Regions from separate parts of the Homo sapiens genome. Here regions 2, 3, 4, 5, 6 and 7 are each linked to region 1. The links are contacts of gene promoters, found by promoter capture Hi-C in blood cells and fetal thymus (Javierre and others, 2016). All regions are on one chromosome and are shown on one strand. Each heading gives the region's core, a stretch centred on a gene start or on the middle of the fragment in contact. The rest is flanking DNA. Distances are from core to core; before and after follow the strand shown.

Evidence for each region. Contacts are between HindIII fragments. The CHiCAGO score rates a contact against its expected background, and 5 or more counts as called.
Region 2: a fragment that was not itself captured here is called in contact with the fragment with the promoter of F5 in region 1 in 4 of 17 cell types (neutrophils, naive B cells, total B cells and 1 more); the score reaches 9.2 in neutrophils.
Region 3: a contact is called between a fragment that was not itself captured here and the fragment with the promoter of F5 in region 1, in 14 of 17 cell types (neutrophils, naive B cells, monocytes and 11 more). The highest score is 17.1, in neutrophils.
Region 4: a fragment that was not itself captured here is called in contact with the fragment with the promoter of F5 in region 1 in 1 of 17 cell types (neutrophils); the score reaches 6.0 in neutrophils.
Region 5: a fragment that was not itself captured here is called in contact with the fragment with the promoter of F5 in region 1 in 12 of 17 cell types (neutrophils, total CD8 T cells, naive B cells and 9 more); the score reaches 13.9 in neutrophils.
Region 6: a contact is called between a fragment that was not itself captured here and the fragment with the promoter of F5 in region 1, in 5 of 17 cell types (neutrophils, total B cells, naive CD4 T cells and 2 more). The highest score is 6.8, in neutrophils.
Region 7: a fragment that was not itself captured here is called in contact with the fragment with the promoter of F5 in region 1 in 1 of 17 cell types (naive B cells); the score reaches 5.1 in naive B cells.

The regions. Positions count from the first base shown.
Region 1 is chr1:169,584,286-169,588,123 of GRCh38, reverse strand. F5 (coagulation factor V) reads left to right here and starts at 1,643. Exons shown (of 25, transcript NM_000130.5): 1 at 1,643-1,895. The coding sequence starts at 1,738. RefSeq lists enhancers at 1,168-1,667, 1,668-2,169. The HindIII fragment of the contact is 11,391 bases long and covers 1-3,838 here.
Region 2 is chr1:169,828,905-169,832,742 of GRCh38, reverse strand. It overlaps FIRRM (FIGNL1 interacting regulator of recombination and mitosis), which reads right to left. Exons shown (of 25, transcript NM_001320047.2): 14 at 3,294-3,480; 15 at 2,402-2,484; 16 at 1,996-2,047; 17 at 237-326. Among named protein-coding and RNA genes, the nearest start is that of FIRRM, 36 kb to the right of the region's middle. The HindIII fragment of the contact is 1,207 bases long and covers 1,120-2,326 here.
Region 3 is chr1:169,805,113-169,808,950 of GRCh38, reverse strand. FIRRM (FIGNL1 interacting regulator of recombination and mitosis) reads right to left here. Exons shown (of 25, transcript NM_001320047.2): 8 at 2,863-2,947; 9 at 1,022-1,160. Among named protein-coding and RNA genes, the nearest start is that of FIRRM, 12 kb to the right of the region's middle. The HindIII fragment of the contact is 6,965 bases long and covers 1-3,838 here.
Region 4 is chr1:169,371,517-169,375,354 of GRCh38, reverse strand. The region is part of intron 2 of BLZF1 (basic leucine zipper nuclear factor 1); the gene reads right to left. Among named protein-coding and RNA genes, the nearest start is that of BLZF1, 5.2 kb to the right of the region's middle. The HindIII fragment of the contact is 3,501 bases long and covers 108-3,608 here.
Region 5 is chr1:169,786,331-169,790,168 of GRCh38, reverse strand. It overlaps a transcript of FIRRM not described here. Among named protein-coding and RNA genes, the nearest start is that of METTL18, 6.7 kb to the left of the region's middle. The HindIII fragment of the contact is 3,263 bases long and covers 529-3,791 here.
Region 6 is chr1:169,769,999-169,773,836 of GRCh38, reverse strand. No RefSeq gene overlaps it. Among named protein-coding and RNA genes, the nearest start is that of METTL18, 23 kb to the left of the region's middle. The HindIII fragment of the contact is 3,028 bases long and covers 540-3,567 here.
Region 7 is chr1:169,747,587-169,751,424 of GRCh38, reverse strand. No RefSeq gene overlaps it. Among named protein-coding and RNA genes, the nearest start is that of SELE, 15 kb to the right of the region's middle. The HindIII fragment of the contact is 544 bases long and covers 1,886-2,429 here.

The DNA of each region.
Region 1 (3,838 bases), core at 394-2,893:
CAAAAGGTAATTAACATGATTATATAATTTGAATAGTGTTGTAATAGTTCATAAAATGGAAAAGCCAATTTGAGCCCAGAATCTGGGAGATAGGCAGAACTCTGGACTGTAAAGAATGGCCCAGCAAAGAGGAAGAAAATGGGCATTCTAAGTTGGTGCAATAATATCAGCACAGGAGAAAAGACAGAATATTGGGGGGAGTGGGGAGGGAGGAAGAGGCTGTTGATGAGCCTGATATCATTAACAGAGACCTCATGTGAGGTGCCAGATTACAATTTATTGAATGTACTGAATGCATAAAGCATAAGACAGAAACCTGGAGCCATGCAGATACAGGGAACCCAGGACAAGTCATTATGATGCCTCAGACAATATAATTCGCAGATTCTCTATCAATAGCAAAGTAAGATTTAAGGTGCTGTGAAACAGTCAGATCCTTCAAGAAAAACAAGAATACAAGGGGTCCTGGAGACAGGAAAATATGATCATAATAATAAATTTGTGATTCCTTCTTTCTCTCTTTTTCTCTTTCTTTCTTTTTCTTTCTTTCTTTTTTTTTTTTGATGGAGTTTTGCTCTCGTTGCCCAGGCTGGAGTAAAATGGCATGATATCAGCTCACTGCAAACTCCACCTTCCAGGTTCAAGCAATTCTCTTGCCTCAATCTCTCGAGTAGGTGGGATTACAGGTGTCCACCACAACGCCCGGCTAATTTTTTATATTTTTAGTAGAGAAGGGTTTCACCATGTTGGCCAGGCTGGTCTTGAACTCCTGACCTCAGGTGATTCACCCGCCTTGGCCTCCCAAAGTACTGGGATTACAGGCGTGAGCCACTGCGCCTAGCCTCTGTGTGTTAAGTGCTGGAACTATAGTTTACAGTAGCATTTTATCCTCCCAACATACCCTATCAGGAAAAATTATTATTGTCATCCTTATTTCACAGATGTCAAAACTGAACAGAGAGGTACAGTAACTTGCCCAAGACAACACAGCTAGTAAGTGAAACTGAAATCTGGACAACTGATTTTTTTCAGCCAAGCTCTTCAAGCCCGCTGCTATGCTGCAGCTTAGCTGGCGACAGGCCCTTATCAAGGCAGAACTGTGCCTTGATAGAGGCCAGGAAGGCGATTCAGAGCAGTAGGCCTTGTCCATGTGTTTGTTCCCTGCTTCTTCACCACTTGAAAATAGTGTTTCAGTGCCCAGTAACAGGGCACAATACTCTTTTCCTCAGATTAAAAGGGGAGCCATCTGCTTAAGGTGGTTGGGTGCCACTGCACTGCACAGAAGGTTCTCCAAGTGTGAGCTTGGACCCAGGCAGGCCTCAGGTCAGTGGTAACGGACGACTGCTTCCGTGGTGTTGGCAGGTGGAAATGGAGGGATACAGCTTTGTCCGGCTCATGAATCCCTGGGCATTGTCCCGCCTGCTAGAGCCTCTGATCTCTGCCCCTTCTTCACCTGCAGTAAAACAGTCACTAGTTTGGTTGCTCTCCCTAATACCTCTGGTCACTGGGAGCTGTGATCTCACCAAACCCCTGCCAGGAAAAGCCCCAGAAAAAGCGGAGGGAGTGAGAGCCAGAGGCTGCTGCTGCCGTTTGCAAGAACTGCAGGGGAGGAGGACGCTGCCACCCACAGCCTCTAGAGCTCATTGCAGCTGGGACAGCCCGGAGTGTGGTTAGCAGCTCGGCAAGCGCTGCCCAGGTCCTGGGGTGGTGGCAGCCAGCGGGAGCAGGAAAGGAAGCATGTTCCCAGGCTGCCCACGCCTCTGGGTCCTGGTGGTCTTGGGCACCAGCTGGGTAGGCTGGGGGAGCCAAGGGACAGAAGCGGCACAGCTAAGGCAGTTCTACGTGGCTGCTCAGGGCATCAGTTGGAGCTACCGACCTGAGCCCACAAACTCAAGGTAACTCAGGTGTGGAGTCCGGGTGGGCTTCTCTAGAGAGGAAAATCTATTTCTTTTAGAGAACATTCCCTTTGCAATGTCATGGCTTTTTTTTTTTTTAACTTCAGGTAAGTAAATATAACTAATAGGAGAGTATACTGAATTAAATAAACTGGGCAAATGCTAATTTTGCATCCAACAATGTAGTTTATCATTCTGAGGGTTTAGAAAGCACCCTATTTGATTGGTTAGATGCTACCTTCTTTTCAAGTTTATTTTCAATACAGTTTTGTTAGTATGTTTGTGTTGGCTTATATATTGGTTAATTCAAAGGCACCAGGCACTTGCTCCCTCATTAGCCCTTCCTGCAAACTCCTGTTCCAGATTTTTAGTTGTATAGTATTTTTATGAGACTCCTAGTTACATATTATTTATTCCATTGTCTACATAGCTTCATCTTCTAAAACTAAAAATGAACACCTTGTGCTTTTTGTCATATAATTTTATTGCTGCCTTATAAATGACTTTCAAAATATCATCAGTTCTTGTATGTTTTTGTACTTTCACCTTTTTTCTGCTTCATATTTGACTTATTTATCCTATTGAATGTGACTCTTCATTTTTTTTTCTCTCTGTTCATCATGTCCTGGGATATGGTTTACCTTGGCTACTTAAAGGCATATGTAACTGAGAGGAGGTTTAATTCAGATAAAATACTATCCTTGAGTTGCAAACTATTTTTTCTAATTGAAATGTTAAAAATAAGACTTCTCAGAAATTAACTAAATCATACAGTCTATTCAATATTTCCAGTTAGTTATTTTTTAAATGGTAAACCTGCTAGTGTGACTCACTTTTTTTCCTTACATCACACTTCATTATGAAAGATGTGTTCCTCTTTTACAATTACAAAACCAAAGTAATCTGCCAAAAAATAATGTAATATTTTGAGATCTTTTAGTGTATAATATTAACCTTTTTAAAACTCTCATTGTAACTGGGTTATTTTGGAGGGTATTACATACCATCTTGGTCTTATAATAAGAAGAGATCCCTCCTTCTCAAAAATAATCATTTTAAATATCGTACTTCAAAGTGATAATCTAGGTCACACCCACACCCTTTGGGAACTGCCGTAAGCTAAAACCCCAAGGAAAATAACAGTCCTTCTAACACTAATCTTGCCTGCTCATGAGTAGAATGCAGACTTGGTTGTTGGCTTTCTTGTAGCATGCTGGGTTCATGCTTGGGAGTTTTTTCTCTTGTCTGTAGTTAGCGTTGAAAATAACAAGCAAAATACCGGAGGCAGAACCAGATAGGGCAAAGGTCTGATTCACATGGTGAGTACACAGGGAACCATGACTGGTCATTCTGTCCCCTCATCCTGTGGGTAAGTTTCCAAAGTTCTGGAGATTCGTTCCTCTGGTAGGAATTGTTGAGTCAAAACCATAGAAACACAACCCAGACAAACTGTCATATTGTTTAACCCTAAATCATATCATTTCTCTCTAGCATTTTCTTATGAAAAATCTAATCCATATATCTGGCTGCTTAAACTAAGAACTTGTTCTAACTTGTCCTGCCCCTAGAGCTATGATACTCACTAGGTGAATATCAACATAGCCAACTCCATCTTTTGGCAAAGTGTATTTTAGCACAAAGCAGACATCTATCTACTTATTTCATATAATATTAGCAGGACAATGCCTTTTAAAGGTAAAATGTATCTATTATTCTTGCTCCAAGTCTAAGGTGAACACTTTCAAAAATTTCCTTAGAAAACTTGTTTAGTCACTCACATGTATACAAAGAGATATTGAAGAAAAGATATACATACATTTTCCTTCTAGGGTTCTAGCTTTATATGATTTTGTGATTATGAACAAATCATCTTTAAACAATCCTTATAAATGAAAAACTCGTCGTACACATTGTTTGAATTCATATGATCTGTAACTTTTTAA
Region 2 (3,838 bases), core at 474-2,973, 240 kb before region 1:
AGTCCCAGCTACTCAGGAGGCTGAGGTGGGAGGATTGCTTGAGCCCAGGAAGTCGAGGCTGCAGTGAGCTGTGATCGAGCCACTGTAAAACCAGCCTGGGTGACAGAGCGAGACTCTGTCTCAAAAAAAATAATAAGATAAATTTTTAAAAATGGAAAAAAAAAGGCTATCAAAGGAGTCTGAATCCAACTCTGAGCAGCTTCACAGACAGTGACAAAGATGATATCCTTCCTTGCCTGATGGGGTGGTGCCATGAAGAAAAAGAGACGCTTCAACAGTATTGATAGGTTGATGAGTTGATAACATTCTCCAGGGCATGACTTTATCTGGAAAAAGACATGAGAGAGAGAGGAGAGACTGACTAATTTAGAATCAGAATTTTTACAAGAAGAGAATATGCCAAAATATTAATAGCAGCTCTTTCTAGGGGAAAAGATTGTAGGTAATATTGACTTTTAATTTGGGGCTTTTCTTATCTTCAATGAATCTAAATTTAGAATGAGATTGAACTTCTGACATATTTAACACTGTAATTTCTATTTCTAATTATCATTTTGATGATAACTGGGTATGTCAGTCCTCCTACTCAAAGACAATTCATGGAACTTTTTAAGATCTAACTACAATAGTAGAGAGGTAGATAAAACTCTACAAGACAGAAGCTTCATTAAAAGATGTTACAGGGGCTGAGTGTGGTGGTTCACAACTGTAATCCCAGCACTTTGGGAGGCCAAGGTGGGAGGACTGCTTGAGCCCGGGAGTTTGAAACTAGCCTGGGCAACACAGCAAGAACTCCATATCCACAAAAAGTTTTAAAAATCAGCTGGGCATAGTGGCGCATGCCTGTAGTCCCAGCTACTCAGCAGGGTGAGGGAGGAGGACCATTTGCACCCAGAAGTTTGAGGCTGTAGTGAACTATGATTGCACACCACTGCATTCCAGCCTGGGTGACAGAATGAGACCCTGTCTCTAAGAAAAAAACCACCACTAACAAAAAAATTTTATAAATTCAATTTTATCAATTCCTATCATAATATAGTATCATTCCATCCTGGAATCAATTTTATCATAATGAACTAGAAGAAATCCATTCCTACAACATAATGCACTAAGAAAGCTTTTATTTAAAGGAAACTTCAGACATAAAACACATAACATAAAAATCACTCTTTATCTGCTTTGTGAAAGATATGTTAAGGATTTAGTAAAGTGTGTAAGTGATAATCCAGACCATCAGCCATGGAGACATAGATGTCAGCTGTTCAGGTTATTACACACCTCACTGGATCTGATCTACAAAATCCTTTAAAGGTAAACCAAGAAATATATGATACAATAAGACTATTAGAAAACAAAAGATGTATGGCCCACATAAGATCTTAAAGGCCAGGGAAAAAAATATGTAACAAATAGGTCATAATCATCTTATATGGAACACATAAAACACCTCAGAATTTAAAAGCAAAAAATGTTAATGTTAAGATGATGAAATCATTATAAAATAATTTTCTGTCTGTACCCATTCATAAAACATGACTTCTTTTGCCAAAAGTATCTATCAATGTCAAACTCAAGTTCCTCTCAAATCATCTTGACTTAAAAAAAAAATACAACAAAATCAAGAGTCGACTTGTCTAAGGCATATTAGAGAGACAGAAGAGAGAAACCTCTTGGCCATCAATTATAAGTCGCTCTTATTTTCTACTTTGCATTCAATTTTAAATGTAATTTCAATTAACCCAGTCTTTCCTTCCCAGAACAATTACTGAAATTACATAAAATCCTGAGAATATGAGAAAACATTCCCAGTTTCACACTAACGGTTTTTTAGTACATCCTTCTTAAAAGCATCAGCATTAATACAAGACAAAGACTGTCAAAACAATCTTGTTACTGTGATATTTCTCCCGCCGATATTCACATTCTTAAAGATTATCATATCCCCAAAGGAAGTGCATAGAAAGTGGGTGTTTTAGGCCTTGTAATTCTACGCACCAGATGAGCCACTATGGTGACATGGTGTGCACACAGTTCAGCAGTCCCATATCTGCAATATAAAAGAGAAGACAACTATGTTTATACAATTACTCAGAAACATAAGGAGATGAACTTGCATAAAGCACTAAATATTCTGATGAGGACATTAAAAACTGCCATTATTTCCATGACCAAATAATATCACAATATACAAAACTCCCTAAACAGTACTCATCTATTGGCTTGAACCAAAGAAAGAACTTGTTTCCTAATTTAATGCTGTAATATGAAATCAAAGCGTTTTGGGAATTATTTTTAAAGGATTATTGAAACAGTTTTTCTATAAGCTTACAATTATAAAATTATCTACTGTCAGTCACTACTAATAACCAATCCAAAGAACAAAAAAGCAAATATGTTGTACCGAGCAAGGAAGCACCATGCATCCATAGCTAACAAAGAGGTGATCATATTAGCACTAAGTACAGCATTCAGCAGAGCAGCATCCTAATCAAAAACAGAAAAATTAATTTATTTAAATACTAAAGTTCACAATAAGCAATAATATTATATTTCTCAAAATAAAACAAGAAAGCACTATCAGAATCCAAATAACAGATCCTCAATGGGGGAGTTCTACTTTCTAGTATCTGAAAGGACACTGCCATTCCCTCAATATTTATTGAGCACCTACTATACATTAAGTACTGTGCTGTGCTATGGAGAGTTCAACATGATTTTAAATGTAATAACTCAGTCACTAGGATCCACAAAGATTCTCTAAGTAGCCTGAAATATTCAAAACAACATAAATAACATATATGCTTATATTCCTCTTTCTGCCTTTATTCACATACAACATTTAATAGGTGCTAGATATTGTGTAATATCTGAAATGCTACTGATCTTTAAATTTCAGATATTACAAGTATCGAATTCCTAGAATTTCTTAACCTCTTTTCAAATCAAATTCTATCCTTTTTAAAATCTATATTATGTCTGAGATCTATAAGAGACCTGATACTACAAGCTATTTACTTTTCTTTTGAAACTTACTTAAGTACTACATATTTTTCCTCTTCTCACATTGTCTTTGCATACCTCCCCACCCAAAATGTTTTCTCAAATATTTTAGCCAAATATTAGATCTAAATAATACAGGAATCTGGGATTACCATTTTCTAGGACACAACTAAGTTTCACTCAAAAGGAATATACTAAGTATTCCCACATTTTCTTCTGTATATGAATCACAATTTCAATGAAGAGAAAGCAAAAGTGTAACCTTAGCTTAGCACAGTAAGTAATATGCTTACCAGTTCAGCAAACAGTGAGGGATGAAAGGAAGTAATAAATGTACACAGATGAACACAAACATGCTGATACAAGGTGACAGCCACCTCAGCTTTCCCCTTACTCTTTAATCCCTGTAAATGAACAGGTAGAGAGAGTTCACCAGAACACTGCTCAAAACTGTAGAAAACGGCTTTGAGTAGAGATATCCTGCAGGGAAATTGAGAACATTGAACCCAACATTAATAACATTTACTAATTAGCAATTATAATAATAATATGTAACATGGAAGGTTGTTTAAGCAGAAAATGTTTCAAGAGGTATAATCAGCAATAGTTTCCAACACGTGTGAATATGTACACATAAAAGGAAAATATATTCACTGTCAAAGAAATTCCTTAAAGGAGAATTTTCCTGGACATTTTTTGCATCATTTACCAACTGTTTATCTTGGTACTGAGTTACACAAAGTCAAAGTTCCTCAAGGAACTTGAAACTTAAATAGCTAAATTAGATATTATATGGAAAAACAGAAAATAAGTAGCAGACGAGGAGTCATTTTAAGAT
Region 3 (3,838 bases), core at 498-2,997, 220 kb before region 1:
TATTCAAGGAAGAAATATTCAATTCATGGTCCCATTAAAATTATTACATATAGGCTGGGCGCGGTGGCTCACACCTGTAATCCCAGCACTTTGGGAGGCCAAGGCGGGTGGACCACCTGAGGTCAGGAGTTCGAGACCAGCCTGGCCAACATGGCGAAACCCCGTCTCTACTAAAAAAATTAGCCAGGCGTGGTGGCAGGCGCCTATAATCCCAGCTACTCAGGAGGCTAAGGCAGAACGATCCCTTGAACCCGTGAGGCAGAGGCTGCAGTGAGCCAAGGTCATACCACTGCACTCCAGCTTGGGTGACAGAGTGAGACGCCATCTCAAAAAAAAAAAAAACAAATGACATATAACTGTTAGGTCCTGAGTACTATTAATCTTATAATTTAGGACTACTATAGTTAAATAAAATTGAGGGCTAGTCTGAAAGCAAAAGGTACTATGTATAACAGTGTTACAGGAAAATGAGTTATAATTCCCAATAATCGTACTACAAATTTTTAGAATATAATGTTTCATAAATGGGATACCAATTCAACACTCTAACTTTTCAAAATAAAAACAAATGTATGACTATATCAAATTTAAAAGACTGATACATACATATACATGCACAAACATACTTGTATCCCTAAAGGTCGCAATGCGTTGGTGAAGAAAAAATGCAAGATTGATTGCAGCTATATCAGATCTTATACAAATATGAACAAAAGAATTTTTGTTCTCATGCAGAAAAGAATGAAAGGATTCTGAGAAGAATGCTGTGACCAACCAGTTACCAAGCAAAGAGGGAGCCAGGCAGACCCCAGAGGCAATGACAGCAGTTAGGAATCTAATACAATGCTCTGGGTGAAAAGTAATTATGGGATATAAATAATCCCACAGATCAAAAAAAAACACCCAAATGAAATAAATTAAAATCCTCTTAAATAGACTGACCCAGACATTCAAATGAGATTTACTAACTGCCAAAGAAAATAAGAGTTGCTGTTTAAAATGCTATTAGCCCAAATTTTACCTGTGCATCTGACTGTGTCATCTGCTCAGCTAACTGTAAACAAGAATGGAAGGAGAAAAGAATGTCTTCACACAAGCTAGTAATTATATCTTTGTGTTTCAACTGGCTTTTTATTATGGACTGGTGCTTAAGGCTCTGCCTAAATGAATAAAAAGAAAAGAATACAATCACCACAAGTAACACATCAAGTAACTTAGGACCTCTAACAATATCTACCTTGTAGAACATTTAAAAAAACAATCAAAAAGCATCATATATCACATAATATAACTAAGATGTGCCCAGTTTACCTCTGAAGCAGTTATATTTGTTTAAATAAGTTGCTAATTTTTTCTCTGTGTAAAATATTAATTGAATTCTTACTATGTATGAGGCATTCTACCAGGCCCTGGAGACAAAGGGGTCAAACAAATGGACACAATCTCCGCCTTACCTGCATGAAACTTGTGGTCTAGCATGAGAGAGAATGTTAAATAATTTTAAGAATAATTAATTAGGGCTGTGATTTGTCAAATGACAGAGTCTAAGGTGCTACAATAGAGAGACCTAATCTAACTTATTCTTAGGGTAAGGATATCAATCTAACTTAATCTTAGGGTAAGGATATCAAAGAATGTTATCATGAAGATATAACTCTTAAGCTGAGAACTGAAAGACAGTAAGCAGGAGTTAGCAAGGTACACAAAATAGGAGAGAGAAGCATCCTAGGCAGATGGAAAAACCACGAAAAGACTCTGGGACAGGAGAGTTTGGTATGTTTGAGGAACTAAGAGTAGGGAGAGCAGCATGAGACAGGCTGGTGAAGGAGGCAGCATCCACAGAGGATTAGGTTGTTATTCTTAATCAAATGGGATAGACTTCAAGCAATAGAGTAACATGATCTGATTTACTTTTTAAAAGATCATTCTGCTGGGCAGAAAATGAACTGGAAGAGGGTAAGAGTGGAAGATAATCAGTGATGATGATAGTGATGTGGCTAATTCCTTGAGTATTAACTATGTGTCATGCACATTTCTAAGCATTTCACAGTGATGAACTCAATTCTCACTATAACCCTGTCAAGAAGTTGCTATTATTATTTCCATTTTCAGATGAGCAAACTAACGTTCAGAGAAATTAACCAAATAGCCCAAGGGCTCAGAAGGAGTAAATGATTTCAAGAATGGATTTAAGCACATGTGATACAGCTCCCAGGCAACACTCTTAACCACTGAATGGCAACTTAATGTCCTGGTAGTACAAGAAAAGTACCTAAGACCTGAAAATACACTGACCTTTAATGTTTTATGTATGTGTATAAAGTAGATATTCTTAACCATTTTTACATCTCAACCACATCTCCTCTCACCCCTAAGAATCTGATGAATGCTACAGGCACTATCCCTGGTGACCCTTTAAAATGCTTCAGTTTCAGAAAGTTAAAATTACTGTACAAATGGAATTAAGTGTGAACAACTTAAAAGTACCTAATGAAAAGATTATATTCAGTTTTAATTATAGTTATCAATTTATCTAATCCTAGAAATAGGATACTTGATAGCTGGTTAAACAACAGTAGCAGAAGAAAAGTGGTTAAGTTCTAGTCTGGCCCATGGCCCATTATTTCTGAAGTACTAGCTAACTAGGAAGAACATTTTTTTTAATTTTAGAGGCCACAGGGTAAAGAAGTCCAATTTGGCTTGAGAGCTACATGTAGAATATCTGGATTATCAGACAGCAGTGTCAGTGAACATTAAATTCACACAAAATGTTTTAAATGCAATCTAAAGAATCATGAATAATTAAGATTGGGGAATATGGAAAACATTTTCTAAAAAGTAAAAAATAACAAACAAACTTACTTAATTATAAACTTCCAAGTATTGGCATGAAATGCATGGTCCATACTGGAAATAACAGAGCAGATATCCAATAAAGAATGAATAACTGCAAAGAAAGATAACAGAACTTTTAAGACATCCAAATGTCATGGGGGTGAGTTTCTCCTATAATTAAAACTATCTACTGAACAATTTCAACATTTGATTGAATTAAAATACGTAACACAACTTGGAAACAGTTGTGTCAAAAGAATTATTTAAACTATTTAAGTGTCACACTTGTTAATGGTTTTTATAAATATTGAATATTAACTTCTGAAGTTTATACCTACCAGATGACCTAAATAAAACTAAAGATGTTCAGTGGAATAAAAGTTGTACCCTATTATAACTGAAATATTCTACAGATATAATTCTAATCCAAAATGACAAAACAAATTGCTAAGGAAAGAAAATCTAAAAAGGAAGAATTCAAATTAATATCCATGGTATTCATGCAAGGCTTTTACTCAGTCTGTGGTAGATTATTTATAAAAATGGCCACAATGACTGCCCTTTGTGAATCCACACTTTTCTACAATGACTCTGGGCTAAACGCTATGACCTGCTGTGGCCCGGGGGACAATAATAAAATTAAGGCAAGCAGAAACTTGAAAAGTGCTAGCACACAGCGACCTGCTCACACTTTTGCTACTCTTAGAAACCCTGAAACCACTGGCATCAGGTATCTGAGATAGGGTGAACCTGCTGGATGATGCACATGGCTTTCTCAAGTACTTCTGCCTCTGCCAACAGCCAGATGTGAATGAAGTCACTGAAGTCACATGGGTGAGCTAGTGCCCCAGGTGGATCAGAGAAAGTTGTCTCAGGACATCCCACCCTAAACTGCAGACTCACAGAATCATGAATAAATAAATAGTGAATAAATAGATTTTGAGGTGGTGTGTTGCAGAGCAACAGGTGCCTGATACACTGCACAAAACCAACTTACTCTCTT
Region 4 (3,838 bases), core at 609-3,108, 210 kb after region 1:
ATATATATGTTTTATATATATATGTGTGTGTGTAATGTAATCTCCTAAAACAAAGACTTAAAACAGAATTCCTTTTATACTTGTAACAGTAATAAATTTCGTAAGCTTAACATATTTTTTATTTTATGGCTAGAATATATTCCCTTCAAGTTAATATAGCATTTACTTTCTTATTCTACTGTTGAATATTTAGACTCTTTACAATTTTTCACTATAATAAATAAGGCTTTATTGAACACTTTTATGCCTACATATTTTTCTTAACTTCTGAGTTATTTTTTCAAATAAATTCCCAAGCATAAAATTAATGGGTTTGGTGAAGATCTGTACGGCCGAAATGCCTTCGAAAATCACTCTACCAGTGTATCTGTGGATCTATGCCTAATATCCTTACTATTTATTTATTTGCATGCTCAATACCTATGATTTATATTGTACTTAAAAATAAATAAGAATACATGTAAACTGTTTAGAATGGTATTTGACACAGTAAGCACTCATTAAATGTTAGGTCCTATTGCTTTTATTATTCTTTAAATAAATTCCTAATAAACTTTGGATGTTGATATAGACAGAAATAAAGTTAATTTATTTAATGCCATAAAATACAATTCTGACTTTCATTCTGTTATGTAAATCTTAAAGTTATATTGCTAGACTATAGGACTATTTATTCAAGTAACAGATTTACTTTTTTCAAATTTTTCCCATGTAGAAATGTTCTGGGAACCTCGAGTTATGTTAATTAGACAGGAGGTGGAAACATAGCTGAGGTATAATTAATGTGTTCTATTTTACAAAACATTTTACATTAGAATAAAATCGTGTCATTTCCATATGAAATGTAAACTAAGTTTAAACACCCCTTGGGCCTTGGGATTGACTCTACTTTTAAAAAGATAAACAAAGGAATACTTCAGAAAGTGAAATAAAGGCCTAACATGCTGGGTTTGGTAAATTAGTTAAAACAAAGCATGGTAGCACTGACAAGGAGAACTTCCACTGAATCATTTAAAAACAGCTTACTGCAGCCTTGACTTCCTGGGCTCAGGTGATCCTCCCACCTCAGCCTCCCAAGTAGATGGGACTACAGGCATGTGCCACCATGACCAAATAATTTTTTGTATTTTTTTTGTATTTTTTTTTTTTTTTGTAGAGACAGGGTTTCATCATGTTGTCCAGAATGGTCTTGAAATCCTAGGCTCAAGCAATTCTCTGGCCTCAGCCTCCCAAAGTGCTTGGATTACAGATGTGAGCCATCACACCCAGCTACCTGTATTCTTAAAATCTGATTTTAAGTTTGTCTAAACTTAACTAACTTGTCTAATCTTGTCAATAAGACATTCTGGCATTTAAGAAGTAACACAGAATCATGTATTAACTATAAATTAATAAAAACCATCAACAATAAAAACACGCACTACAGCCATGGTTCAGGCCCACTGAGGCTGAGGAAATAAAAAACAGGTGTGATACTTCCATTATGGTCAAATAAAATTTCTAGGCAAGCTGTAACATTTTTGAGTTGGAATTTTAAGTAACAGAGATTCAAGAACAAATTACAAAATGATTAAAGTTAAATTTAAAAGGCAAAGAACCATTAATAGGTATTTAACAGAAATCTCTTTTTGAACAAAATACCTTGTTGGAAAATCAAGAAGTTCAACCAACTTGTTTCCACCCCAATTTACTCTTAACTTTATTTAAACTGTTCTACTTACTCAAGCATTTATGAATATCAAAGTTGTATTATATATTACGTGAGAGCTCCCGCTCAGTAATAACTATGATTCTAGCTAATGTGCATAGGTAAACAGGCCGTAAGAGCCAGGGCTTAACATTTTCTCACCTGGTAACTTTCGTAATTCGATTTTTCCTTGTGACATACCTAGAAACCTTTATTACATATGCAGTAGGCACAATCCAGGACACATTTACGAATAATTACCTTCTCTCAATTGGGAAGACAAGGACCTATGGTAACAGCTCCATAATTATGAGTAACGCTTAAGTCAAGAAAAACACCAATCCTTATTCTTCCCCACTATTTGAAGGGAACCAACAAAACAATCCTTAAATTATTCATCATCATTACTTCCACCTGTGATCAATTATCAATGAATTAAAACATATCTAAGGTTTGCTCATTCGTATTGCCTACCAGGATTGGTGAAATGTAGGGAAAGAACAAAGAAGGTCACTAGTCTAACATTCTAGGATGGGAGCTGGCAAACTTTTTCTGTAAAGGACCAGAGAGTAAATATTTTAGGCTTTGTGAACCAAAAGGTAAAATTGAGGATACCATGTAAGTATTTAATAAGAGAAAAAAAATTTATTGATGAAATTCAAACTATAACAACAATAATTGAAAACAATTTTTTGATAACATAGGTCTAATAATGGGAAGAACAGATTTTTTTTTAATTCAGGATAATGTTTGGCTTAAATAGTGTTAATGTCCACTATTATCAAACTGATTGCAGATATTCTCAGGAGGCTGAGGGCCACAATTTGCCAACCCTTGCTCTAGAATATTGAGGCAAAAAAAAATTTATTGTCTGTCATTGAACAAATATTTCTCTTTTATTCATAAAACTTCAATCTATGATGAGAGGTACTCTAAGTCAGCAGAATGGGGTAGTGAAAAGAAATCTAACTCACTAGAGCCTGAGTTAAAATAACTTAAGTCCCTACTGCCATGTATTGTGTGACCTTGGACAAAGCACTTAACCTCATCCTCCTCCCATCCCTTGGTGCTTTCAGAGTAATGCAAACATGGTAGTATATATTTTAAAAATAATTTGTTTCTCTTGTAGACTAGACTGTTGGGAGCTCTTCAGGGTATGGACCGCCTCCTAATCTTTGTGTCATGAACTAATAAAATGGTCCTTGTCACAGAGAAAATGAATAAATGCTTACTGAAGCTCATTAGTCTGTTAATACACTACCTAGAGTGTTTCATTTTTAACATCCAAAAACTAACCCATTTAAAAACTGCTTTATTTTTTTTCCTCTACCCTAAATCATTAATTCCTAACTTGGTTATAGTCTGAAAGACTTTCCAGAACATATACAAATTCAGCTATGATACAGTTAAACAAATTAGGGATTGTCATGTGGTAATTTTAAATCAAGAGTCTTTTTAAATGTCACCCATATCACCTAATAAAGTTTAGTTATTATTAAATTAGTAAAATAAGTTACATACAATGGACTTAAGAGTAACATCGAGATTTACTGAAGTGGAATCTAAGCATTCTTCTTACCACAGGCTCTATGGATAGAGATCCCTGGTCAAATAAGTGTGGGCAATGTTGCATACTGCATCTCTACAGAGTTTCAATGTACATTAGTATTAAAGTTATACTATAGGACTCTGAGAGGTCCCATAGTATAGCCTCTCTTTTAATACAGCATTTATCAAATTTATCTGCTCATGGAATATCTTTTTTACCTAACACCTATTATTCTACAGAACTAGTGTTAGACTATTTTATGGAATCAAAAATATTTAAATGTCTCAGACCTTTCTATTTGGTCTACTATTACTAAACTAGTTGACTTTAATAGCTTTATTTTCAATTTTAATCCCACATCCAAGAAAAGCTTTGGATTTTAAGTTTCTAATTGTTACTATTTACTGTATGTTTCCCTTTCAGAAACAGCACTAGCAGCCATGATACAACCCTCTTATGATGACAGTGCTGCTCAAATGTCTTCTGAGAGGAAGTTCTGTTGCTATACCAAACAACCGTACTTATCTCCTGAGGCAGTTACAGGAAGCACAGACAACTGACAAATGTCAACCAAGTACACCTTTTCACAGGCCATGCAATAC
Region 5 (3,838 bases), core at 911-3,410, 200 kb before region 1:
TGTGGGGGTATCAAACAGCCCAAAGGGAACACACCTACCCAAGATAGCTGGCAGCAAAAGGGACTTGAGACACAAATTATGGCTACAAATCCAGGAAACAGATACGCAGCTTTCTCATGTAACAGTATCATTTAATCATTTAAGGGTTATGATAACTTGGGTTAAAATTCAATTTCTCCATCTGCAAAACAAGATTTATAATATTATATCCCTAGCAGAGTTCCTTGAAGATTAAGAGTTAAGCATTTATCATGGTTCCTATCAAGTTTCCTATGTATAAGTGGAAATTATTATTTTTAATAATTCGTACTATTTATTCACCTATTTTCTGAACCAGATAGGAAGTCCTGCTCACTTTTGTTAAAAATGGTGTTTGTGCCTTTACAGTATACAAATTTCAGTTCAGAACCTGAAGAAACCACTAAGTTCTAAACCTCGCTCTGCCCACCATTAATCTCCACTCTCTCTCATCCCATTCCCCTCCCTACTCCTCACCTCTGCATTCCTAAATTGTCTTTTTTGGAAGCTTTGGTTGCAGATTATTTAGGATGAAGAAGAGTGCGTCTTGTAAATTTGCTTCTAAAACCCAGTCACATATGTGCTATGTTCTGCCTTTAAACTGCCCATTTCTCAGATGTGCCTGTCCTCTAAGTTCCAGTTTTCATGTCCCACAGACGACGTTCTGTCCATGGTTCAGAAACTCATGGAAATGTCTCTGTGCTGACTGAGTTATGACTTCTCTGTGTCAAATGTGATGGCCAGTGACACATCTGCTATAGGGTCTGTGGGGTGGATAAGTGTCAGCGTTTCATCTGGAGAATTAGATTTTCGAGAAGATTAAACCTATCTTCACTTTTCAATGCCGTCCATAGTATTTTCTTCAGGTGCTTACTAAATGGTCATTTGAAAAAGAGGAATAGCAAGGAAACTCTGACTCCATGAACTTGAGTCTTTGCCTCCACTTCAGCTGGGACATTTTGAATTTTTTATACCATGGTTATGATGGCATTGTGATTGTTGATAATAAGGATTTTCTTTGGGTAAAAGTACACATTTAAAATTGCCATCATAACTAGCGCAACCCAGGAGAGAAGTTGCTCTGTGCTTTGTAAGACTCCTCTACTGCAGTCCAAGGATGCAGCTTCTATATAGCCCAGATGGTTGGGGGAAGCCACAGTACATTTATGACTACTAGCTATCCAATTTCTGCCTTTTCAAGGAATTAAAATTCAGATAGCCCTTAAAAGGAGTTTCATCATCTATACGGGAGGTTATCTAACAAAAATGCTATTTCTGTTTGAAAGAAACTATGTAAAAATTACAATTAACGATTACAAAGAACAACTTTATAACTTAAATATTATCTAACTTAAATATTACTAAAGAAAGTGGGGCATTTTACCCCTCACAGAGCAAGGTGAGTGGCCAATTTGTGATCTGCAAAAAAAAAGATTTGACGCAGGGATACTGTAGCTATCTTTTTCCATTTACTGATGGGATGGAAAAAGTGGATGTAAAGGCTTGCCTTTGGCAGTAAAGTTGACCCTTGAACAACATGGGGGCAGGGGTGCCCACCCCCCTGCAGTTGAAAGTCCACATACACCTTTTGACTCCTCGAAAACTTAACCACTAATAGCATACTCTTGACCTGAAGCCTTACAGATAACATAAACAGTCAACTAAGACATATTTTGTATGTCATATGTATTATAGATTGTATTCTTAACAATAAATTAAGCTAGAGAGAAGAAAGTGTTAAAAAATTAGGAGGAAGAGAAAACATATTTACTATTCACTAAGTGGAAGTGGATCATCATAAATGTCTTTGTGCTTGTCATCTTCAAGTAGACTTCAAGTATCTTTGAGTAGACTGAGGAGTAGGAGGAAGAGGATTGATTGATCTTACTGTCTCAGGGGTGGCAGAGGTGGAAGAAAATCTGCGTATAACTGACCATGCAATTCAAATTCATGTTGTTCAAGGGTCAGTTGTATATATTTTAAGCCTTTACAATAGAATTGCATGTACTTAGTCTCATGAAACCCCAAGTGCCTTGGCTGTGCTGCTGCTAGACTGTGTGGTTCACAGTACAAAGATAAAGATGCTCCTTCCTCCAGGCAGATTCAGCCCCATGATAGGGGGAATGGTGGGGTAAGTCAAACAAAATCTGTTTTTAGCCCCACTTGCCCTTTCAACTCTTCTTAGTCATCTTGTGGCTTAGTACTACAAACTTCCACAGTCTTCCAACTGATAAGATATAGGAAAATGGGCAAAAAGTGATCAACATGAAAAAAAACTATGTAACATACATCACATGTAACATACATCACGTTACAGGGGGCTGTAAGAGATGGGTTTTCCTTCTCACAATGATTTGGTGCTCACAAGAGCCATTCCATTGAGGACATCCAGCATGGCAAAATGGAATAAAGTTTTAGTAATCTCATTGTGCAGCAGATTGTTAAAGAAAAAAATGGTTCAATGTTACTTGTTAAAGCATGGTAAGGCAGACTTTATTCATTACCATTGAGATAGTATAGGGACCATGGCAATGGGATTTTGCAGTAGTGGGGAGAAAATAGTCTTAACTGCAGAGTATGGGCAAGTGGGAATTTATAGCCGAGGAGCAAGGTGGGTCAAGGAGTCAGTGGATGAAAAAATACTAAGAGGAAGCATCAAGGGTAAGGAGGATTCTAATCTAACAGAACCTAATAGAATTCTCGCTGAAGACAAGCCAGACACTACCAGGGAGGGAGATAGTGACTTTTGAGGTGGGGATTCTTGCTAAACTGACTTAGCAGAGCTCTTTACTAAAACTGGATTTTACCAAAAAGTCTGCAGGTGGGCATAAGAGAAAGCCCAGAAGCCTAACTAAATTTTGGCCAAGGAAAGAATCTGTCAAGGTGAATGCAGAGTTTGAACCGGAAATTAGGGCTACAGAAGCAAGTATTCCTGTGTGAGCCTCCCACCACTGCACACTGCACACTGCACACTGCACCCTGCAGGGAAAGCATCAAAATGAGCACTGAAGTCAGATGGCTGCTGAAATCTGTCCCTATCGCCCCATTCAAGAGCCTTAGATGTTCTCTGTGCGTCCTGGCTACACTGCAGCAGCAGCAGCATAGTTCTGAAAGCCTCTAAACATAATCCAGTTAGCCACACAGTATCTGTGTAGCTCTAGTAATTTTCAAAGTCTGCTCTCAAACCTCCAGCAGGTCTCCACCAGTAAAGTTCTACTACTGGTCCCAGTAGAGCGGTCACGGATCATTCAATCAGCTCAGTCACCTCTCAGATCTTCCTAAGGCTACAGAGGAGAAATCAATGTGCTTCACAATGTGTAGATAACAAACTTGTCCACTGTAAGATCCTGAAAATTTTATTCAAAGAGATAAATAGGAAAAGAAATTTCTATTCTGTCATGTCTGGTCAAGACTTGTCCAGATTCTTCTTTCTGTGTGTCTAAAATGTCCTAGAGCTCAAAATTCTTCTAGATCTCTGCTATTTTAGGATAAATAACTTCTAGTGAATTTCTGTAAACTAGATGGTGCGCTTATTTTAAATTGCATGAAAAAAGTATTCAGTGTGTGGGCATTTTTTTTAAAGGGAGAATGCGTGTGGAAAGGTACACTAATGCCTAGAAATTCAGAACACATCCAGTCAGCTCAGTGGCACAGCAAATTGTGCCACTCTCTATGCCAGCTTTTTTATTATCATTGCTATTCCACCCTCTTTGCGTTTTAAAAATCTTCAGAGGAAGACCTATTTTTAATGATTTGCTTTTCTTCCCTAAGCTTTCCACAGATTAAACTCTGCATCCTGTTTGCTTTGCTGTGTTCAAGC
Region 6 (3,838 bases), core at 804-3,303, 190 kb before region 1:
TTGATTTCTGTCCTTTTCAGACCTTTTTTGTTTTGGGGGGAGTGGTGGGGTCCCATTCACTCTTCATATATGCTTATATTTCCCAGGTAAACTTTGTAATTATCTGACAATTTGTAAGCAATTCCTAAGATATTTCGTTTGACATTGTATTAAATGTATACATTAATTTGGTGAGAAATGGAACACCTAGACTATTAAATATTAGAATCCAGTAAGATGGTCTATCTCCCCATACATGTAAGTTTTTTTTTCTTTAGGCCATTATTAACATCTTTTAGTTTCTTTACATATCCTACAAATGTGTTAAGTTTATCCCTATGTTTCTTCTATCTTTTTTTTTTTTAACATTGTTAAAGTGAATAGGATTTTTCCCATTATATTTTTAAACTAGTGGTTTCTGGTAAATAGGAAAGCTGTTTATTTAGGACATTTCCCTTTTTTTTCCTAAGCTTGTCTTCCCTTGGCTTTATGACCCTTCTCTTTTCGCGGAATGCCTCAGATCTCACCTAGGGAAGCAATGTGGAGTAGCAGAAAAAGCTTTGGTTTAAAATCATGTCTTTGACTCTTGGTTCTGTATCTTAGAAATTGCATGACCTTGAACCAGTTAGTTAACTGGTTCTGAATATCAGTTTCTTCTTCTGAAAAATTGGGATCATAAAACCAACCTCATGGGTTTGTTGTGAGGATTAAATGAAATAATATGTGCTACACTTACTAGGTTCCAGTCCCTAGCATGATGCACATATAAATGCTCAATAAATGTTTGTTGAATAAATACTGTTAATAGAGAGCCACAATCTCCTAAAAGTATACCATGAGCATTTGTCCCTTGTACTTTTTAAGAGAAGAAGGTAACACATTATTAGATAAAAGGTCACTGAGCAAATTTTAATCTGCAACCTGGTGCCATGAATGAACAAACTGGGAAGTAAGAGTAGGGAGGCTTCCTGTCATGGAGGTGGCTACATAAATGGAATAATTCCAGGGGACTCAGAAACCTACTGTTCATACCTGTTTCCCAGCCATTGGCCACAGTGTCTGAAATGAAGTCGAGAGCCTGCTGTTGGGCCAGACAGCATTCTCCCCTTAGGTTATCTTTGAAAATACAATCACATTTGGACACAATATAAATCAGTTTATCAAATCACTTTTTTTTTCTGTAGAGATGAGATCCAGGCACCATGATATTTCTGGTGCCTATGGAAAAGGAAGACACAAAAAATGGAAAAGGAGGATTTCAAAGATTAATTTTGCTTGCATGACATTTTCCCCAGTAGTTGCCTGGGCAAGGGAACTCATTTGCAAATGATGATCTCTCATTTTCAGTTGAGGGTATTTCCTATTAGTCAGTTATCATTATGGCTTATAAATATGTCCATTGTAAGTTTGCTAAGTATACAGCAATTCCCCAGAGGCTGGTTAGTCCTTGGTAAGTTTATGAATTTAACAATTTCAGGAACACGGGGTCGAAAGGTAAGGTACAACAGCCATGAGGTTGGAAGGAAAGAGCTAACACCCTGTGTCTTACCATGTTAGTCACTGAAAGCTATTGTTTGATTCCTATGGAAAGTGTCTTCTTAAAACAAATCTTCTCTGAGAATTGTCTTTCCACTGTTGCCTAGACCAGTTAAGTATACAGGTCATTTTCTTGTTCTTGACAGAGTTTTGGGAACAGTAAATCCTAAGAACCCCAGAGAATCTTGAACTTTCTAATAGGAGCTTCAAGTTTTCTGTTTTTCTGTCCTGAACGGGAAATAATTTTACAGTTATTAACTTCAACCAGTGAAACACCAAAAATGCTTCACTAGGAACATGTCCAATATCAGTGATCACATTTAAAAATCCTAAGTGAACAATTACATAAATTATCTAAGGACTCTTCTAATGTCTTACTTTCCTGTCTAACTGACACCAAAGAATAAAAATCTAAACTCTTCTTTCTCCAGTGCTGTTTTTATTTCTGCTACCAGTATCCTCTTCTTGGCAAATCAGAAGTCTTCCATCCATCCATCCATCCTTCCATCCATCCATCCATCCATCCATCCATTCTTTCACCCATCCAGTCATTCAGGCGATAAGAATTGAGAACATACTTAAGTGCACATTAGCTAGCTCTATGCTAGGTAATGTAGAGGTACAAAAAGCAGAATAAAATACTATCCCTGATCTCAAACTATTTACATTTCCCATAGAAAGACAAGACATGCTAAGACTCTGTGTCTGTTTCCTTTCACAGAAAAGTCTCTCAAGAATTGTCTGTGCTTGCAGGTTACATTTTCTCATTTCTCGTTATCTCCTCAATCTACTCTAATTGGTCTTCTGTCTCAACACTCCACTCAAAGTGCTCATCATATTTCCAAATCCAATGGTCACTTTTCTGTCCTTATATTATTTGACTGCCCAGAAGTTGATGACTGCCTCGCCTCTTTGACACCCTTCTTCTCTTGCCTTCTATGATGCTTCATCTCCTGGCTTTCCTCTCCACCTCATTGGGTGCTCAGTGTTACTTATTTTGCCAGTTTCTATTCCTCTTATAACCATCTAAATGTACACCAGAGTCCTAGGCCTTCATTGCCTCCTTATCTTCACCTACTTTGAGTATCTCATCTACTCCCCTGGCTTTAAATACTATGCATTTGCCAATGATCAGATTAATTTCCTTTTCCCTTACGTTTCTTATTTATTTATTGAGACAGGTTCTCACTCTGTCACCTAAGCTGGTTTGCAGTGGCGAGATCTTGGCTCACTGCAACCTCCGCCTCCTGTACTCAAGTGATCCTCCCATCTCAGCCCCCCAAGTGGCTTGGACCACAGTCATATGCCACCATGCCCAGGTAATATTTTGCATATTTTGTAGAGACAGGGTTTTCCCATGTTGCCCAGGCTGGTCTCAAACTCCTGAGCTCAACTGATCTGTCTGCCTTGGCCTTCCAAAGTCCTGGGATCACAGGCCTGACCTACCACACCTGACCCTGTCCCTTACCTTTCAATGGGCTCCACTCACCTGAAATCTCCACTGGGATGTCTAATAAGCCTCTCAAAATTAATTTGCAAAACAAAGCCTGTGATTCTCAATCTCCTTTATCTCAATTCACAGCACCCATTTATTCAGTTGCTCAGGTACAAACCTAGGAACCATTATTAATTTATTTTCTTTTTTTTACTCTCATATATGATCCATAAACCAAACCTATTATAGACTCTACCCCCAAAGTAGAGTGCCACTTTTATTTATTTCTACGACTACTATCCTAGTCTAAGCTACCATTATCTCTTGTCTGAGCCACTGAAATAGCCCCTAACTTAGTTTACTCCTACCTCATTATAGTTAATTCTCCAGAATTATCTTTTAAAAATACAAATCACACCTCTCACCCTAGTGCAAAACCTCCAGTGATTTTTAAATCCTCTTGGAATAAAATCTGGTTGCCTTATTATGACCTATAAGAGACTATATTATCTGGCTCTACTTATAATTCCAATCTCAGCATATAACAGTGTTTTCCTCTGTGCTTAGTATGCTGCAGGCACACTGGCCTTCTTTTTGGTCCTTGAACAGGCAAAGCTTGCACCCAAGGGCATTTGTATTTGCTATTCAGTCCAAAAGTTCTGTCCCCACATCTTTGCACACCTAGCTTCTCGGTATCCTTCAGGTCGCAGCTCACATGTGGTCTCTTTCTTAGAGAGATCTTTTCTAACCATGCAAAGGTAAGCAGGCTTCCTTCCAGTGCCTTTTCGCTGTCCATTACCTTGTTTCATTTTTTTCACAGTACGTACCATTGTCTGAAATCATCTTGTTAAATGATTTGTTTATGTATTTATTGTCTACCTTTCCCTC
Region 7 (3,838 bases), core at 908-3,407, 160 kb before region 1:
TTCCCCTTTCTTATACTAAAGAGAGCATAACAAATACTCTTTGGCTCTGGATTTTTGGAACAAATTAACAACATAAGTGAATTGCACTTTATTGTACAGATATACCATAGTTTATTCAGTAAGTCTCCTATTTGTTCATGTAGGTTGTTTTAAATATTTTGCTATTAAAAATTAAACCATAACTAATAACCTAATGTATATATATTTTTATTGTTGAGGTGTATCTTCACCACTAATCCTAGAAGCGGGATTACTAGGTCAAAGAATAAATGCATAAGCACTTTTGCTAGATATTGCCAAATTCCTCTCTATAGGGATGTCACTATTTTACATCCGTACCAGCAATCTATGAAACTGAGTGTTTTCCCTCAGCCTCGTCAAAAGAGTCAAGTGTCAAGCTTTCAAGGATACCCTCCCTTTTAAACAGTTTGTCCTTATATAGTCTTTATTCTTCTTTCAACACCCTGCTTCCACAATTTGTATATATATATATATTTTTTGCCTTGTCAGGACTTTCTTTGGGGCTGTTAAGTTTCTAGACATAGCACCGACAAGGAGTTTATTATATTTGCCTTGGAATTTTTGTAATTACAACATTTTGAGAGAAGCTGCTTATTTGTGAATCAGTGTGTTCTAAGACAAGAAGGCTTTCCTTCATATTCTTTCATTTTATAACAACCAACTTAAACCACTGAATGCTTCATATTCTTAAAACACCTAAACACATCACAACTGTTCTAAAAATCATTAGCCATGAAAAATTCACACAATATCATGCTGAACTTTTCAAAAGCAAAGCCAAATTTCTTTTAGGGACCCATCACTCAGCAAAACAAATGTCAAAACAAGTTTTTCTTGACTTGAACTTTTACATGGTCACGTACAAAAAGGAAAATGAGTGTCTAAGTCAGCACCAAAGATTATAAGATAGATGGAAAAATGATAAGAGAACATCTCATATTTTTGCTTATGTAGGTAAGAGACTGAATCTTCTTGTAAAAAATGTTTTTTCTTTCTTTTTTTTTCTTTTTGTTTGTTTCTACCAAGTGGACTATTTTCTTTGGAGAAGAACTAATGCTTATAGCAACACTTGTATATACAGTGGTCTCTGGGCTTACAAGACTTAACATTTGCAGTTTTGAGTATTAGATGGACATGACATTTGATACTTTGCAATTTTGCTGAGACAGGGATTTGAATTCTGTACACAGCAAAAAGAAAGGTAAGTGTATGTTGGTTAGAATGTCTCCGAGCTAGGGAGTGAGCTATTTTCTCTAGGGTTCTGTTGGTCTTGATTATATAAACAGGTATACCTTGTTTTTATGGTACTATGTAGATAATTGAATTTTTTACAGATTGAGTATTTGTGGCAACCCTGCATGAAGTAAGTCTATCAGCACCACTTTTCCAATGACATGTGCTCACTTTGTGTCTGTGTGTCACGTTTTGGTAATTCTCACAATACTTCAAATTTTTCATTATCATTATATCTGTTATGGTGATCTGCGATCAATGATTTTTTATTTTATTATTGTAATTGTTTTGAAGTATCATGACCTGTGCCCTCAAGGTGATAAACTTAATTGATAAATGTTGTGTGTGCTCTGATGACTGGCTGTTTCCCCATCTCCCTCCCTCTACTCAGGCCTCCTTATTCCCTGAGACACCATAATATTAAAATTAGGCAAATTAATTAACCCTACAATGGCTTCTAATGGCAAATTGAGCATTGGCTTCAACTTAAAAGTCGCCAGCTGTGTTAGCCCCTAATAAGAGAGTCTGCCTGTCCTTTCAAGCTTTGAAGCCAGGCATCATCATGTAAGTGTTCAAATGAAAGGAAGGGTCACACATCTTACTTTAAATAAAAAGCTAAAATGATGAAGCTTAGTGAAAAAGGCATGGTGTAAACTGAGATTGGCTAAAATCTAGGCCTCTCATATCAAACGGTCAAATTGTGAATAGAAAGGAAAAATTCTTGAAGGAAAGGAAAAGTGCTATCACAAAAAATAGTAAGAAAGTGAAACAGTCTTATTGCTGATATGAAGAAAGTTTTAGTGTTCTGGATAGAAAATCAAACCAGCCACAGCATTCCCTTAAACCAAAGTGTAATCCAAGGCCCAACATTCTTCAATTCTGTGAACTCTGAGAGAGGCGAGGAAGCTGTAAAAGAAGAATGTGAGGCTAGTGGAGGTTAGTTTATGAGGTTAGAGGAAAGGAGCCATCCCCATAACATAAAAGTGCAAGGTGAAGCAGAAGTAATGATGTAGACACTGTGGTAAGTTATCCAGCGGATCTAGGTAAGATCAATGATGAAGGTGGCTACACCAAACGACAGATTTTTAGGGCATAAAAAATGGCTTCCTATTGGGAGAAGATGCTATCTAAGATTTTCATAGCTAGAGAAGAGAATGATGCCTGGCTTCAAAGCTTGAAAGGACAGGCAGACTCTCTTATTAGAGGCTAACACAGCTGGCGACTTTAAGTTGAAGACAGGCTGGGCGCTGTGGCTCACGCCTGTAATCCCAGCACTTTGGGAGGCCGAGGCGGGTGGATCACGAGGTCAGGAGATCGAGACCATCCTGGCTAACATGGCGAAACCCCGTCTGTACTAAAATACAAAAAATTAGCCGGGCATGGTGGCGGGTGCCTGTAGTCCCAGCTACTCAGGAGGCAGAGGCAGGAGAATGGTGTGAACCTAGGAGGCAGAGCTTGCAGTGGGCCGAGATTGCACCACTGCACTCCAGCCTGGGTGACAGACCAAGACTCTGTCTCAAAAAAAAAAAAAAAAAAAAAAGTTGAAGCCAATGCTCAATTTGCCATTCCAAAAATCCTAAGGCCCTAGAGAATTATGCCAAATCTACTCTGCTTTTGCCCTATCAGTGGAAAAACAGAGCTTGGATGACAGCACTTCTGTTTACAGCATAGTTTACTGACTATTTTAAGTCCACTGTGGAGATCTACTGCTCAGAAAAAAAATTTCTTTCAAGATACTACTGCTCATTTGACAATGGGCCTGCTCACCCAGGAGCTCTGAAGGAGATGTATGAGGAGATGAGTATTGTTTTCATGTCTGGTAACCCAGCGTCCATTCTGTAGCCCATGGATCAAGGAGTCACTTTGACTTTCAAGCCTCATTAGTTATGATATACATTTTGGGCTAGACACAGTGGCTCAAGCTTGTAATCCAGTGTTTTGGGAGGCCAAGGTGGAAGAATCACTTGAGCCCAGGAGTTTGAGTCTTCAGTGAGTTATGACTGTGCCACTGCATTCCAGGTTGGGTGACAGGGTGAGACGCTATGCCCCCACAAAAAAAGAAATACATTTTATAAATCTATAGCTTCCATAGATAGGGATTCGTCTGATGGATCCGGGCAAAGCCAACTGAAAACCTTCTGAAAACGTTCACCATTCTAGATGCCATTAAGAATACCCATGAATCATGGGAGCAGGTCAAAATATCAACATCAACAGGAGTTTGTAAGAAGTTGATTCCAACCCTCATGAGTGACTTTAAGGGGTTCAAGACTTCAGCGGAGAAAGTAAGCACAAATGAGATAGAAACAGCAAGAGAACTAGAATTAGAAGTAGAGCCTGAAGATGTAACTGAATTGTTGCAATCTCAGGATAAAACTTTAGTGGATGAGGAGCTGCTTCTTATAGATGAGCAAAGAAAGTGGTTTCTTGAGGTAGAATATACTCCTGGGGAAGATGGTGTGAACATTGTTGAAATGACAACAAGGGATTTCTAATACTCCATAAACTTAGTTGATAAAACAGCACCAGAGTTTGAAAGGATTGACTCCAATTTTGAAAATTCTACTGTGGGTAAAATGCTATC